Regions from separate parts of the Homo sapiens genome. Here all the other regions are linked to region 3. Evidence: promoter capture Hi-C in human tissues and cell types (Jung and others, 2019). All regions are on one chromosome and are shown on one strand. Each heading gives the region's core, a stretch centred on a gene start or on the middle of the fragment in contact. The rest is flanking DNA. Distances are from core to core; before and after follow the strand shown.

Region 1 (2,700 bases), core at 78-2,577, 420 kb before region 3:
AAAATAATATGACATTACTTTGGCAGGCAGGCATACATTTTCATTTAATATGACACAATAAGATTACTACTTTCTCCCAAAAGTTAACTCCTATTGCCAATAAAAACTTACTTCTAGTTCTTTAATTTTTTCTTCTGCTATTTTCTGCTTCTCTAACAGCTGACTGTGAATTGCTTCCTTGGACTGAAGAATAAACCTATGAAACACAAGAAAGTTGAAAATTAAGCCACATGACTATTGAATTCATCGAAATCAATAGCTACATACTACAAATATTAAACTGAGCAAATTAAAAGGACAAATGCATATTAACATAATACGTCAAGCTCAGGAAACCACCAGAAGTTTAAACCTTCTTGGCTGAGAAGGAATAAAGGCTTAAAAGTAGATTCTGCTTTCTTATTTAATATAGGAATCAGGCAGGGAACAGTGGTGTGGGCCTACAGTCCCAGATACTCAGGAGGCTGAGGTGGGAGGATTGTTTGAGCCCAGGTGTCTGAGTCTAGTCTGGGCAACATAGCAAGACCCTGTCTCATTAAAAAAAAAAGCGGGGGGGTTGCGGGAGTTGGGCACAGTGGCTCACACCTGTAATCCCAGCACTCTGAGAGGCCGAGGCAGGAGGACTGCTTGAGCCTGGGAGTTCAAGACTAGCCCAGGCAACATGATGAGACCCATCTCTACAAAAAATAAATTTAAAATATTAGTCAGGCACAGTGGCACACGCCTGTAGTCCCAGCTACTAGGGAGGCTGAGGTGGGAGGATCAATTGAGACTGAGATATCAAAGCTGTAGTGAGCCATGATTGTGCTACTGCACTCCAGCTTGGGTAACAGAGCAAGATCCTGTCTTAAAAACATTAAAAAAAAAAAAAAAAAGAAAAGAAAATCAGGCTTCAAGTAGATTCATATGTAAAAGAAAAAATAATAAAGGAATAAAAATATATCATACGCTAAGAGAAAAGTCAACATACAAACAAATACCCTATAAGTTTTGTTTTTTCAGTTATCTGTTTCAATTTTTATCTAGATATTTTTTAAACTATATTTGTAAAGTGGAGCGCCCCTCCATTTTTTTTTTTTTTTTGTAACAGCAGTAACTCATGACCTTTTAAAGTCACAATCAAGCACTGTGTTAGGATCAATGCATTAGTGTTTATATGAGTTCCTCAAACAAAAAGCACTGTATAAGCCTTAGTATCTTTTATTATTATTTCCAGAGTGTATATAGTACCTCTGAAAAGCTCAAAATGTACAAGTGGAAATTTTCAACTTTTTCCATTTTACATCAGGCACATTATTTACCACTGATGAGGGTGGAAATATGGAGAAGTTTTAAAAATTAACACTGAAACTGTTTTATGACTTTATGTTCACAATTCTTGCTTCAGGGAAAGGAAGAACAAACTTTTATAGCCCCAAGTAAGTGAACTGAAATATTTCCCCTCCACTGGAACCAAGGGAAGACCCCAGTTATGCAAATCTCTTTCAGGACTGTCTAAGGAAGCTAAAATATATTTCAATTTAATATTGCAATTAATTAAGCAAGATTTTTCTTCTCTTTGCACTAACAGAGTTCAGCAACAAAGAACTAAACATCATCTCTTAACAAAAAGTCAAACGAGAAAACACATCAAGGTAGCAACATGCAGTTTCCTCTGCCAACCCCACAAAAACATCATTGTGCCTAGGTGGGTTCTTATCAAGAGAGTCCGTTATTATAGATATAAGACAAGTAAAAACAGACCAAAAAGGGCAATTAGCTATGCCCCAACACCTGGAAGGAAACTGCCTTGTCCCCTCTTCTTCATAACTAAGCCTTACCACACATATTAATAAAATCTGAAGAACTTCTTTTACTCCACTAATTATTAAGCTTATATCCTAATGCGGCCAGCCCAGATAATTTTTTTTTTTGAGACGGAGTCTCGCTCTGTTGCCCAGGCTGGAGTGCAGTGGCATGATCTTGGCTCACTGCAAGCTCCACCTCCCGGGTTCATGCCATTCTCCTGCCTCAGCCTCCCGAGTAGCTGGGACTACAGGCGCCCACCACCACGCCTGGCTAATTTTTTCTATTTTTTAGTAGAGACAGGGTTTCACCATGTTAGCCAGGATGGTCTCGATTTCCTGACCTCGTGATCTGCCCGCCTCGGCCTCCCAAAGTGCTGGGATTACAGGCATGAGCCACCACGCCCAGCCCAGCCCAACTGATGATCTTAGTCTTCAGTAGTAACTTGATTCTTTGTAAAACCTTACTGTATATTTACAGGAAAGAGAGCCCACATTCATGCAAAACAAGGATTAATTCCAGGTCTTTTACTATAGAACCCTTCATGTCTAAAATATTCTTACTGGATCCAAGAGATGGGTGCTATTTCAGATAAGATTATGGTTTACAGAATATTTTTCTCAGAACTAACTCATATTTGTATTTGAAGAGAAGAGTTGTTTTGAACAGTACTAAGTCTCAGTAATGTTATGTAAAAACTATTCTAAAACAAGGTGCAAGAGTCACCAAATTATGTCATGACATGTGTGATTTTACTGAGAAAGTCTTTTAGCCATGGAAATAATTTTTTGAGTAAAATATACATTTTTAAGTAGCACTGATAGCTGGCCAATGAGTACTATTCTCAAATAAAAGGTCATCAGACATCATCTTTATTAGTGTCTGGGAAAATTTCAAAGCTAAGATTAGAGGTCA
Region 2 (2,700 bases), core at 134-2,633, 380 kb before region 3:
CTCCAAGAAGTGACCTCCCTGACCCTTGGACCAGGTCAGCCAACTTGGCACCTCCTATTGCCCAACACAACTCTCTTGACATTTGATTCTTGTGACTTAATTGTCTATTTTTCCTATTCAAGTGCAAGTTCCCGGAGGGCAGGGCCTCGGTCCTGTTCACCCTTGTGTTCTTAGCCTCCAGAAAAAAGGAGGAATCCCCGTATGTCTGTTAAATGAGTATGCGTGAGCAGTACACTCACTCAATAATTACCAACTTAGTGATATCCGTGCTATTCAATGACAGCAAACAGGTAATTCTGAGTTTGTCTGCCATCTGAGTCAAAGCAATTTGCCCCCATTTTTTTTTTTTTTTTGAGATGGAGTCTCTCCCTGTCGTCCTGGCTGGAGTGCAATGGTGGGATATCAGCTCACTGCAACCTCCGCCCCTCGAGTTCAAGCGATTCTCCTGCCTCAGCCTCCTGAGTAGCTGGAGTTACAGGTGCGCGCCACCACGCCCAGGTTAATTTTTTTTGTGTCTTTAGTAGAGACGGGGTTTCAACATGTTGCCCAGGCTGGTCTTGAACTCCTGACCTCATGATCCCCCCACCTCGGCCTCCCAAAGTGCTGGGATTACAGGTGTGAGCCACCAGGCCCGATCTGCCCCCATTTATTAATGAGGAGACAGATCCCCAAGGGAGCAAGTGATCTGCCCCAGGGAGGCAGGAGGTGAAGCAGTCACAGGGCTCTGGCAATGACCACACCACCCCTCTTCTCCCTCTGCTTCTAACTTTTCTTGTTTCTGAGGTCCAGGCGGAAATGTAATGTCATGACACATTGGGGGATTTCTTTCCTCCCCTACATTTTTCTGATGTGACTCCAGCTTGGGGGGTTGGGGGAACACAAGCCCCAGGAGGAGGGAGGCGGGTGGTGGGGAGGTTAGCAGTCACATTCCTCAGCAGCCTCTGTTTTCATAGCTCAGAGAAAGAAGAAAGAAGTTAGCAAGCTCTGGCAGACACACTGGGCATTCAGCTCCTGTTCTGGCAGCTGCAGGGGCTGGGCTGAGCACGCGCTCTGCCAAGGCCAGGGCGGCAGACACTCTCTCCAATCTCAGGCTGCCAAGATGAGGTGGAGGGGGTCAGGGCCTCTGTCTAAGATGGGGGTTCACAGAAAGAGACCCCTTCTTTCTGCTCAGGCTGGCAGCCAGTTGGCCATGAGCCATGTGTGGGAGAAGGGGAGCAGAGGGAGGCAGTGTCAGGGCCTCAGTGCAAATCCTTCCAGGTTGGAAGGCTGGTGTGGGCATCAGACAGCCCAGGGGGCTATCTCAGCTCCTCCTCCACCCTGGAGATGTTGGAGGGACAACCTCTAGGCAGATGTCCCCACCCGGCTGCTGGGGCCACTGCTGTCACATTCCAGAGGGGGCTGAGAGCCACAGAGCATGGATTGAGAACGAGCTCACCATGGAAACCAGGCTTCCTAGGAAAAGGTCACATATTTGATGTGGCTGTCATCCAGGCACCTTAAATGCCACACTGTTCCTGTTTTCTTGAGCACGCTGCCAGCAGAGAAGGCCTGAGACAATGGGGTTGGCAGTTGACCTGTTTGCCTGGTTTTAGACAGGCCCCTATCACGGTTTCCCCTTCTCAGCAAAACTCAGTGCTGTTTTTACATTGCCTGACCCCAACGTGTACCCATGTGGGCAGCCCTGCAGGCCAACCCTTGAGTCTGGCAAAGACCCACTGTGCCAAAAATCTAGAAAAGGAGGTGCAAACAAGACCCATGATGGTAAAAACTGGCAAAGCTTGTTAAGAATAGTAAAAGCTTTCGGGTATGAGTACTTACTCCATGCTGCCAGACACTGTGATAAATGCTTTACAGGCACTGTAATCTCCACAAAAAAAACCTTAATAAAAAAATTGAGGCTTTGAGAGGTTAAATAACTTATCTGAGATTATTATATAACCAGAAAATGGCATGACGAGGATTCAAACCCAGGCTTGTCTGATCTAGAGCCTGAAACTTTCACCTCTACTCTATTTCACTCATCCATTTATTCATGCACTCATTCATTTATTCAATTGTCCATCCATCCATGCATGCATCAAACATTTAGGGAAAGCCTCTGGTGTGCTGACACAGTGTGTAAAAGGACACACTCCACAACCTCCAAGAGTTCACAGTGGGAGAAATGGATGAGTAAACAATGACAATATGCGGTGTGATGAAAGCCATGGGAGAGGAGCAGCAAAGCTGCTATGGGAAGAGGACTCCTTTTCCTTGCATTGTCCAAGGCTCAGAGGTGTGAGAGCACAGGGGAGGAGAAACTAACCCAGCTGGGACAGGGGTGGGCAGCAGACTTTCTCCGGAAGGTGTCCAAACACACACCTGTAAAAGGGGTTGAACTTGGGTCACACTTCTCAGGCCTGGAGTTCCAGGGGTTGGATTTACATCCACAGGCAGGAGAGAACACTTACTCTCAAATGGACCCGATCAGGCCCCCCTTACCAAGCACAATGCTTCCCAGGGACGCCCAACTGACCAAGTACCACCGACAAAATAGAAAGAAGTCAGGCTTTCCTAGAGAACCCTGGGTGAGTACATGGTTTACACAGCTGTCCTTAACCCAGACTCTAGTGGCATGAAGAAAGAACAAGCTAGCTTCTTCCTCCTTTCACACTCCCATTGAAGACTGCCCACTGTCAAAAGCTAGAGGACAGTAGAAAT
Region 3 (2,700 bases), core at 160-2,659:
AGGACAGATGCTATCCTAAGGGCATGGCAGTACCCATGTTGATTTGACATCTCTCTAGCCCATCCATTGCTTACAGTAGAAGAGTGGGGCTGTATGCTTGATAATCTTGAACATTGAACTTAATAGATGACTTGACAAGGTAGAGATCTGATATTTTGAGATTTTGGAGACCATTTCCTGTGCCAGAATCACTGCTCTATTCCATACCGTGCCATGGAGGCTGTTTTAGAAGTGGTTGGATAACATGTTAAATAAAATATTAAGTGTAGTAGTTTGGGTAATTTGTTATTGTTATCAAGGGCTTTGTTTGCATAGACCATAGAAAATGCTTGAGTGTACATTGGAGAATTCTGTGAGGTAGAAGTAACCTCCCTGGGATGATGCTTCTGTATTCAGTGATGAGCAGCCACAGTTTCTCCCTCTTTCCCTGTCTCCTCAAGAGGTAGTTTTTTTGTTTGTTTGTTTTTAGACGGAGTCTTGCTCTGTCACCCAGGCTAGAGTGCAGTGGCGTGATCTCGGCTCACTGCAACCTCCGCCTCTCAGGTTCAAGAGATTCTCCTGCTTCAGCCTCCCGAGTAGCCAGCTAATTTTTGTATTTTTAGTAGAGACAGGGTTTCACCATCTTGGCCAGGCTGGTCTCAAACTCCTGACCTCATAATCCACCCACCTCAGCCTCCCAAAGTGCTGGGATTACAGGCATGAGCCACTGTGCCCGGCCAAGAGGTAGTTTTGTTGCTAAAAATCAACATATAGTGAGCCGGTATGCCACAGTGCTTCACTCTAGAGTGTTGTTGATGACTGGCCTTTCCAAATCCAATTATGCTGATTAAATTATGTTCTACTATAAAGTTCCCCAGATGATGGAAAAATAAGTGAACCAAAGGGTGGTAGCATTGCTTCAAGGAAAAGAGCCCAAGTGCAAAACATGCTTTTTATATGTGCGTCGGGAAGGGTGCCTCTGTTGCAAACGTTTCAGTGTAGTTTAGGGTCATATCCCTAGTGCATGCAGGTGAATGAGAGGCATCTAGACCCCCTAATGGCGCTTCGGCCTTAAAAAAGGTTTAGAAATTCTTGGCAGTGGACGCAAAGTTGCTAGACTAGATCAGAGACCACTGTTTTGCGAACCTCAGTTTCCTTGTTTGTAAAATAGTTGAACTAAATCTTGACCCTTTAATGCTTGTTTTGAAATCCAAGGCAAAAAACAATTGCAAGCGCCCTTACTTCCGTGTTGCTTCATACTCCTCTTGCGCCTGCGCTGTCTCCTTGGAGCAGAGGCGGGGCCAACAAGCCTGTTTTAGAAACCCTCCAGTCCTTAGCTCGTTTAGAACACAAGACTCCAAGCTTATTGGAGGGCTATCTTGCCTTACGGCTCCAAGCCGCTTTTTACGGCGTTTTTCAGCTCGCCATTCACTTCGCTGTGAAGATGGCGTCGGGCAGCGGGGTAGGTGTTGTGTCTGAGGAGGAGGTTTTGCGGGGTGGGGAATGGTTTTTCAGACCTGAATAGAGACAAACTCCTGCACCCGACTGGCTTCCCGATATCTCCTCGAGATCCCAGGGTTCAGGTTCAAGAACTCCCCAGTAATAGGCCTTGGCAGAGGGTCAGTAGAATCGCGGAGGTTTCTCGGGTTGGGGTCTTGAGGCTACCTCAGTCTTCTCGTACAGTCCAAAGAGGCTTTGCTTTCAAAACGTCCTGTAGACACCTGGACCGCGAGGGCGCGGTTCCCTGCTTCTCTAGGGGCCCAGACACGGCGACGGATCTTGACGCTTTTTCCTCCCCACAGACAAAAAACTTGGACTTTCGCCGAAAGTGGGACAAAGATGAATATGAGAAACTCGCCGAGAAGAGGCTCACGGAAGAGAGAGAAAAGAAAGATGGTGGGTGCTAACTACATCAAGGGCTAAGGGTATCACAGAGGCGATGCGATGATGGAGAGCGGGTGGGAGTTGAAGTGCGCTGCCTTCCCACGCGGTGTAAGCTCTGGCAGAGTGCTGCTTCCCTGGGCCTAGGTTTCTGCATTTACAAAATGAGAGCGAGGAGGTGGGATGAAGTAAGTAGTTTTGAGATGCTCTTCAGCTCTATTTCACTCTGCTTCCTTGCCCACCCTTTGCTTGGCTCGTTTAATGCTTTCCTGAAGTACAGAGAAGATAACGGCATCCTTAGTAGTGACAGAGAAGTTAAGTAGAGTATTTTGCTGCTGTGCATTACCGCTATCAGTGACCCCCCTCTTTCCCTTGAAATTTCTTAAGGGAGAGAACATTCCTGGCCCAATCAAGACCCTCCCATATAGTCTGAGAAAAGCCGGGGAACTTTGCAGGATCTGTGATTGTTTCAGCTAGAGCTTAGTAGTGCTGTTTCTCTGTGCCTTGTACATCAGGGAGTTGGTGCTTCTCTCCTGTTTAAGAGATTGCATAAAGAAATGTTTTATTTTGTCATCTGTTTCAAACGTGTACATTCTTCTTTCCCTTTACCTCCAGGCCACCTTGCACTCACTAACTCTTTCATTTTTTATGTAACATGTAAAATAAATAGTGCTTGACATGTAACAGGCATTTCCTAGATGTTGGTCCCCTTTTATAAATTTGCCCAGCTCTCAGAAGGTTCCTTTCCGTTATGCCTAGGGTATCTGCCTGAAAGCATTCTTGAATGTCCTTGCTCCCGTTTTGAAAAAGTTGCTTCTAGTAATTCTTCAGAAATTCTCC
Region 4 (2,700 bases), core at 180-2,679, 340 kb after region 3:
GTAATCTAGCCCCTTTACCCTGTACAGCAAGACAGCATTTACGAGTCACTGAGATTCTGGAGAGTAGAGAGAGAAAAACAACCACAGGATTTTGCAATATGGTGTATTATTTAATATCAGTCTGTTCCTCCTCCAGGCTAAAAATCCCAAAACAAGGGGTTCCTACCCCCCTCCACCTCTGGCATTGTAAATTAGCCAGTCACGCGACCCTTGGAACCAGTTGGGATTGGCCATTTCCTTTGTGTGGTGAAAATCTCTGCAGCGAGTCATGGGACCGAACTGGGCGGTGTCGCTGTCCGTGGCCATGGTGCTGAACTCTGGGCGTGGCCAGAGAGATTTCCTTTACATGACAGCTTCCGGTAGGGCGGGGTCGGGGTCGCGTTCCGAAAAGTGGATCCACCTGCCACCTGGTGGCAGATGAGGAAAATGCTATTGATAAAGTGTAAAGGGTTCTTTGGATTAAGACTTAAAACTTAAAAGACACAAATTGAAGATTTGGGGCGTCAGGAAGTGGTTTTTTTGAGAGATCTGCCTATTTTTAAAGAGAAATGGAAAAATTTAGAATTTTCAGAGTGATCTCTCGCTTCTACTCAAAATAATTTACGAATATGTTTAAATTTCTCCAAGCATTTTTTCCAACACATCTTGTAATCAAATAGGTATTTTTAAAGTATCTGTATATATAGGTATTTAGAAATATTTACTAAAACTTCCACAGGGTATATTTTACTGAAAGAAATACTAAGGAAGCACTATGTTGTTAGCCAAAAATATTCCAGGAAGCTTAGCCGAGAGTGCTACTCTGATCTCAGTTTCTGGAAGATGAAAAGTGTGACTATATTTAGGAATTGGTAAGAGGTGGTGGGAATTCTAGGATGAAAACTCTTGTTTTTTATTTTTTCCAAGCCTAATACATAAACTATCAGAGTGCTAAAAATACAGAAAATTTATGGTATGTTTATTACTTTTAGTCTGTGTATATTATTTACACTATTTTACACAGTGATGATTAAGTTACTGTGAATTACATACATCCAGCTTCAGAGGAGGAAACCTTAAGTTGCTTTGTAAGTACAGATCTTGATAAATAGCAAGAAAAAATAGGGGAAATACCTTGTTCAAGTGTTGTTTCAGAGTCTTACTGTATGTTCAGGTGTATGGGTTACAGTGTAAAATCAATTCTAGCAAGTTGAGAGTGAAATAAAATTCTTTCCCAAGCAAACAATCTTACCACTCTCAGAAAAAAGACCCATCCCAGGGCACATTTGGTTTTATAAGTCAACCAGCCCAGTTAGTATTTCCTTTTCTTATAGCTATTTTCTCATTTACTCTTCTATGGGTCTTAACATAGAATAAAAATATAATAGCATAGTTACTTAACATAAAAGTTACCATTTCTGTTTTAAGGTTTAAAACAAAATTTTGTTGAATAGATATTAATTTCAATAAAAATGTAGGTACTGATTTTGGTGTTAACTGAATTTTCTATAAAAAGGAGAAATTGATAAGTGCTTATCAAGGGAAAGAATTATCACTCTAATATAGTCTCTATTTGATTAAATTGAGACGTTTCCAAACACTTGTCAGATTTCCTGGAAAGACATCCATAGCCTGTTCTACCAATATGAAAAAAAGCATGAATAGTAAGAAGATGAAAGACATCTGTTTTAAACAAGAGTGTACTACAAATCCAGTCTATAAGTGGTATTGGTTTATATTATGGCTTCTTGTGTTACTGTGGGAGAAGGAAACTTTATACGCACATGCACAGGTTGAGCAATAAGAGGCATTCTCATTTAAAGCAACAGATGGGAGATCAAGAGCAGCTGCAATAAACTGAGCTGCCTAAAAAGGACTTCTATCCACCAAAGCATCCTGTTTCTGCTAATATGAATAAGAAACCTTAAAAGCATGAAAAGACACAATGGAAGAATAAAATTTTAAAATAGTACTAAAGTTTACAACTGCAGGTGTGACCTCAATGTTTCAAAATACACCTACTCCTAAAAATAGACTTTTTTTTTCAGGCTTAAAAGGTATATATGAATGAAAATTAGAGGTGACCCCAAATATTAACCTGCCTGTTAAAATTACTATTACAATAAATATTATCAATATTAAAATTTTAAAACTACCTGAACTTTGGGTACAATAGTAGAAGCAACAAATCAGAAGAGATGCTCCAATATTTTAGTTAAGGTATTTTTTTTCTAAAAGAAGTTGAAAATAGTGAAAAAATTATCATCAGAACAATTTCAGAAACATTTAAACCTATGACTTAAAGATGAATAAAAATAAACAATACATTTTACATTAATGTTAGAATCAATTTTGATCTAAACTAATTTTATAAGCAGAAAATGTAGAGTCTTAAAGGAAAGAACATTGGGTAAAAAGAATTTGTTATTCAATATGCGACTAAGTACATTTCTCTTGCCTCCCTGAGTGGATTTTCAAAAAAGTTAATTAGCACTTAGGTAATAGTGTAATAATTCCAAAATTCTTTAATGTATATCTTGAGATTTATTTTGATGGGTAAATATATTGATGCTGTTGTGAACTAAGGCTTCTCACTTTGGGACAAGGAAAATACAAAATATGAAGTAGGGGAGGAAAATAAAGATATCTGTATTAATGTATTGAAAGTGTAAGTCTCATGATCCCATATAGATATACGTATGCACATACACTTATACTATA
Region 5 (2,700 bases), core at 76-2,575, 260 kb before region 3:
TGTTAATTTTTCCTGGCTATACATATTTGCATATTACAGTAATATATATAGTATATATATTATCTGTATATTATACAAATTACATATATGCCATACATGTTATATGTATATACGTATATATGTATATGATATACATTACATATATTATGTAAATAATATACATACTACATATTACTCATGAGTACTCATGTTCATATTTACATATATACACATATGTACATTTAGCAAAATAAGAATCATACTGTTTTGAATCTTGTGTATTTTATTTAATTTTATGAATATTCTCATGCCATTAAATATGCTTCAAAAACTTTTTTTTTAATTTTTTATTTCTTCTCACAGTTGAGCCAGTGGTCACAAAAACATTGTTTTTAATGACTGCATGGTAGTCCATCATGTAAATGTACAACATGTATTTCCCAAATTCTGTATTATAATTTTTCCTCATTTTTGGAATTTCAGTTAATGCTGCAGTGAACATCCTTGCACACTAATTTTTGTCTGGCTTTCAGAAAATTTTTTAGTGAGCTTTTTAAGGTATTTTGATACACGTTTCCAAATTGCTTCCCAGAAGGGTTGTATATATTTTATTTAAGAAAATACATTTTGAATTAATTTTATTTGAAATTGGAGGGTTACATGTTTATTTTTGTAAGTTGATTTTTGCTTATACCATTCATTCATTTCAACAAGTATGTATTAAATTCATACTATGTGCCAGGTATTCGTAGGCCCAACGTATAGCACTGTAAACAAAGTACAGTTTTTAACCTCATGGAGTGTTCCTGTCTAAAGGTCTCCAGGTATCAGTGGGTTAGTTTTTATTTTCCCTCATTTCAGAGTCAGAATTGAATAAATTATTTAGAAAAGAGGAAAACTTTTCTCTTAATGACCTATCTATGCTATCAAGTTTGTTGTTGTTGTTGTTGTTGTTGTTGTTTGTTCTATTCTATCTAGTCTATATGGATTTTCTCAGGGTTATGTTCATGTACTTGTTTCAATAAAAAGTAAATGCTTTTTTTTTTTTTGAGATGGAGTTTTTGCTGTGTTGCCCAGGCTAGAGTACAATGGCACGATCTCGGCTCACAGCAACCTGCGTCTTCTCCTGGGTTCAAGCAATTCTGCCTCAGTCTCCTGAGTAGCTGGGATTACAGGCACCACCTCACCACGCCCGGCTAATTTTTATATTTTTAGTAGAGATGAGGTTTCACCATGTTGGCCAGGATGGTCTCAAACTCTTGACCCCAGGTAATCCCCCTGCCTCAGCCTTCCAAAGTGCTAGGATTACAGGTGTGAGCCACTGCGCCCAGCCCCTGCTTTTCTTTTTTCAGTATTAATTTTTTTTTTTAATAGATATGGGGTTTCACCTTGTTGCCCAGGCTGGTGTCAAACTCCTGAGCTCAAGCGATCTGCCTGTCTGGCCCTCCCAAACTGCTAGGATCACAGGCGTGGGCCACTGTGACTGGCCTTAATATTGCTTTTCATGCTCTGTATTAGTCACAGAATATACAATGCTCTTGAGGAAACTTCAGTGTATGTGTGTTATACCTGTAGTCATGTCTGAAGGTAAACAGTCACAATGTCCTTCAAAGTCCATTCCCATACTCCCTTGTTTCTATAATAATTTTTCTGCTTATATTTAAGTTCTAATTAAGAAGTCATATTACCTTAAATTGTAGTTATTCTAATCATATTGATATCAGTTTCATGGATATTGCATCTTTATTTCATTAACAGGTTGAATCATTTATTTTGGACCAAGAAGATCTGGATAACCCAGTGCTTAAAACAACATCAGAGATATTCTTATCAAGTACTGCAGAAGGAGCAGACTTACGCACTGTGGATCCAGAGACACAGGCACGACTAGAAGCATTGCTAGAAGCAGCAGGTACTTTATTTTTTGTTTTATCTTTTTCATATCTTTAAAAGTCTAGATCTCTTTACAGTTACATGAGATTATCCCCAAATTCTATAACATTATACAAAATTTAAAATCTCTAAAATTTATTTTACTTTTTATCTCCCAAAGAAAATGTTCACATTTTGTATTTCTGGGCTCAACTCATATATTTTTAAGGTATTAAGATAATGAGCGTCCAGGCGCAGTGGCTCACGCCTGTAATCCCAGCACTTTGGGAGGCTGAGGCAGGCGGATTGCCTGAGCTCGGAGTTCAAGACCAACCTGGGCAACATGATGAAACCCTGTCTCTACTAAAATAGAAAAAAATTAGCCAGGTATGGCGGTGTGCGCCTGTAGTCCCAGCTACTCAGGCAGCTGAGGCAGGAGAATTGCTTGAACCCTAGAGGGGGAGGTTTCAGTGAGCCGAGATCATGCCATAGCACTCCATCCTGGGCAACAGAGCGAGACTCCGTCTGAAAAAAAAAAAAAAAAGATAATCAGCTAGTTATCAAGGAAAACTTACCTGTTAGCCATTATAAAATAAAAATGTGGGAGATAAATTTAGTTAATCAGTTTATGACTTCTTTATCTGTACTGATTTAGGGAGCTGCATGTTGATTACTTGTGTATTCACTTTAATCTATGTTTAACTTGATTTTAAATAGCTAATTTTTTTATATGTAATGCATATTATAAAATAGCTAAAGCAATGTGAAATATATTAAGTAGATAACAAAACCTTCCCGTTTTCTGTCAAGGTTTACATATACTTCTAGACTTTTCCCCTTATGATAATA

The links. The method cuts DNA at HindIII sites, captures the fragments that hold promoters and counts their contacts. A contact is called where the count stands out against the background at its distance.
Region 1: a fragment that was not itself captured here is called in contact with the fragment with the promoter of ZMAT2 in region 3 in 1 of the 25 tissues and cell types used here (hippocampus).
Region 2: a fragment that was not itself captured here is called in contact with the fragment with the promoter of ZMAT2 in region 3 in 1 of the 25 tissues and cell types used here (hippocampus).
Region 4: a fragment that was not itself captured here is called in contact with the fragment with the promoter of ZMAT2 in region 3 in 1 of the 25 tissues and cell types used here (hippocampus).
Region 5: a contact is called between a fragment that was not itself captured here and the fragment with the promoter of ZMAT2 in region 3, in 1 of the 25 tissues and cell types used here (spleen).

The regions. Positions count from the first base shown.
Region 1 is chr5:140,281,338-140,284,037 of GRCh38, forward strand. PFDN1 (prefoldin subunit 1) reads right to left here. Exons shown (of 4, transcript NM_002622.5): 3 at 112-196. Among named protein-coding and RNA genes, the nearest start is that of PFDN1, 20 kb to the right of the region's middle. The HindIII fragment of the contact is 5,922 bases long and covers 1-2,700 here.
Region 2 is chr5:140,322,072-140,324,771 of GRCh38, forward strand. No RefSeq gene overlaps it. Among named protein-coding and RNA genes, the nearest start is that of PFDN1, 20 kb to the left of the region's middle. RefSeq lists an enhancer at 650-1,849. The HindIII fragment of the contact is 4,745 bases long and covers 1-2,700 here.
Region 3 is chr5:140,699,038-140,701,737 of GRCh38, forward strand. It overlaps ZMAT2 (zinc finger matrin-type 2), which reads left to right and starts at 1,410. Exons shown (of 6, transcript NM_144723.3): 1 at 1,410-1,441; 2 at 1,782-1,875. The coding sequence starts at 1,424. HARS2 (histidyl-tRNA synthetase 2, mitochondrial) reads left to right here. Exons shown (of 13, transcript NM_012208.4): 13 at 1-268. RefSeq lists an enhancer at 1,669-1,738. The HindIII fragment of the contact is 4,805 bases long and covers 1-2,190 here.
Region 4 is chr5:141,040,970-141,043,669 of GRCh38, forward strand. No RefSeq gene overlaps it. Among named protein-coding and RNA genes, the nearest start is that of PCDHB1, 9.1 kb to the right of the region's middle. RefSeq lists enhancers at 1-451, 1-1,050. The HindIII fragment of the contact is 5,128 bases long and covers 1-2,700 here.
Region 5 is chr5:140,434,367-140,437,066 of GRCh38, forward strand. It overlaps ANKHD1-EIF4EBP3 (ANKHD1-EIF4EBP3 readthrough), which reads left to right. Exons shown (of 36, transcript NM_020690.6): 2 at 1,738-1,891. ANKHD1 (ankyrin repeat and KH domain containing 1) reads left to right here. Exons shown (of 34, transcript NM_017747.3): 2 at 1,738-1,891. Among named protein-coding and RNA genes, the nearest start is that of ANKHD1-EIF4EBP3, 34 kb to the left of the region's middle. The HindIII fragment of the contact is 7,246 bases long and covers 1-2,700 here.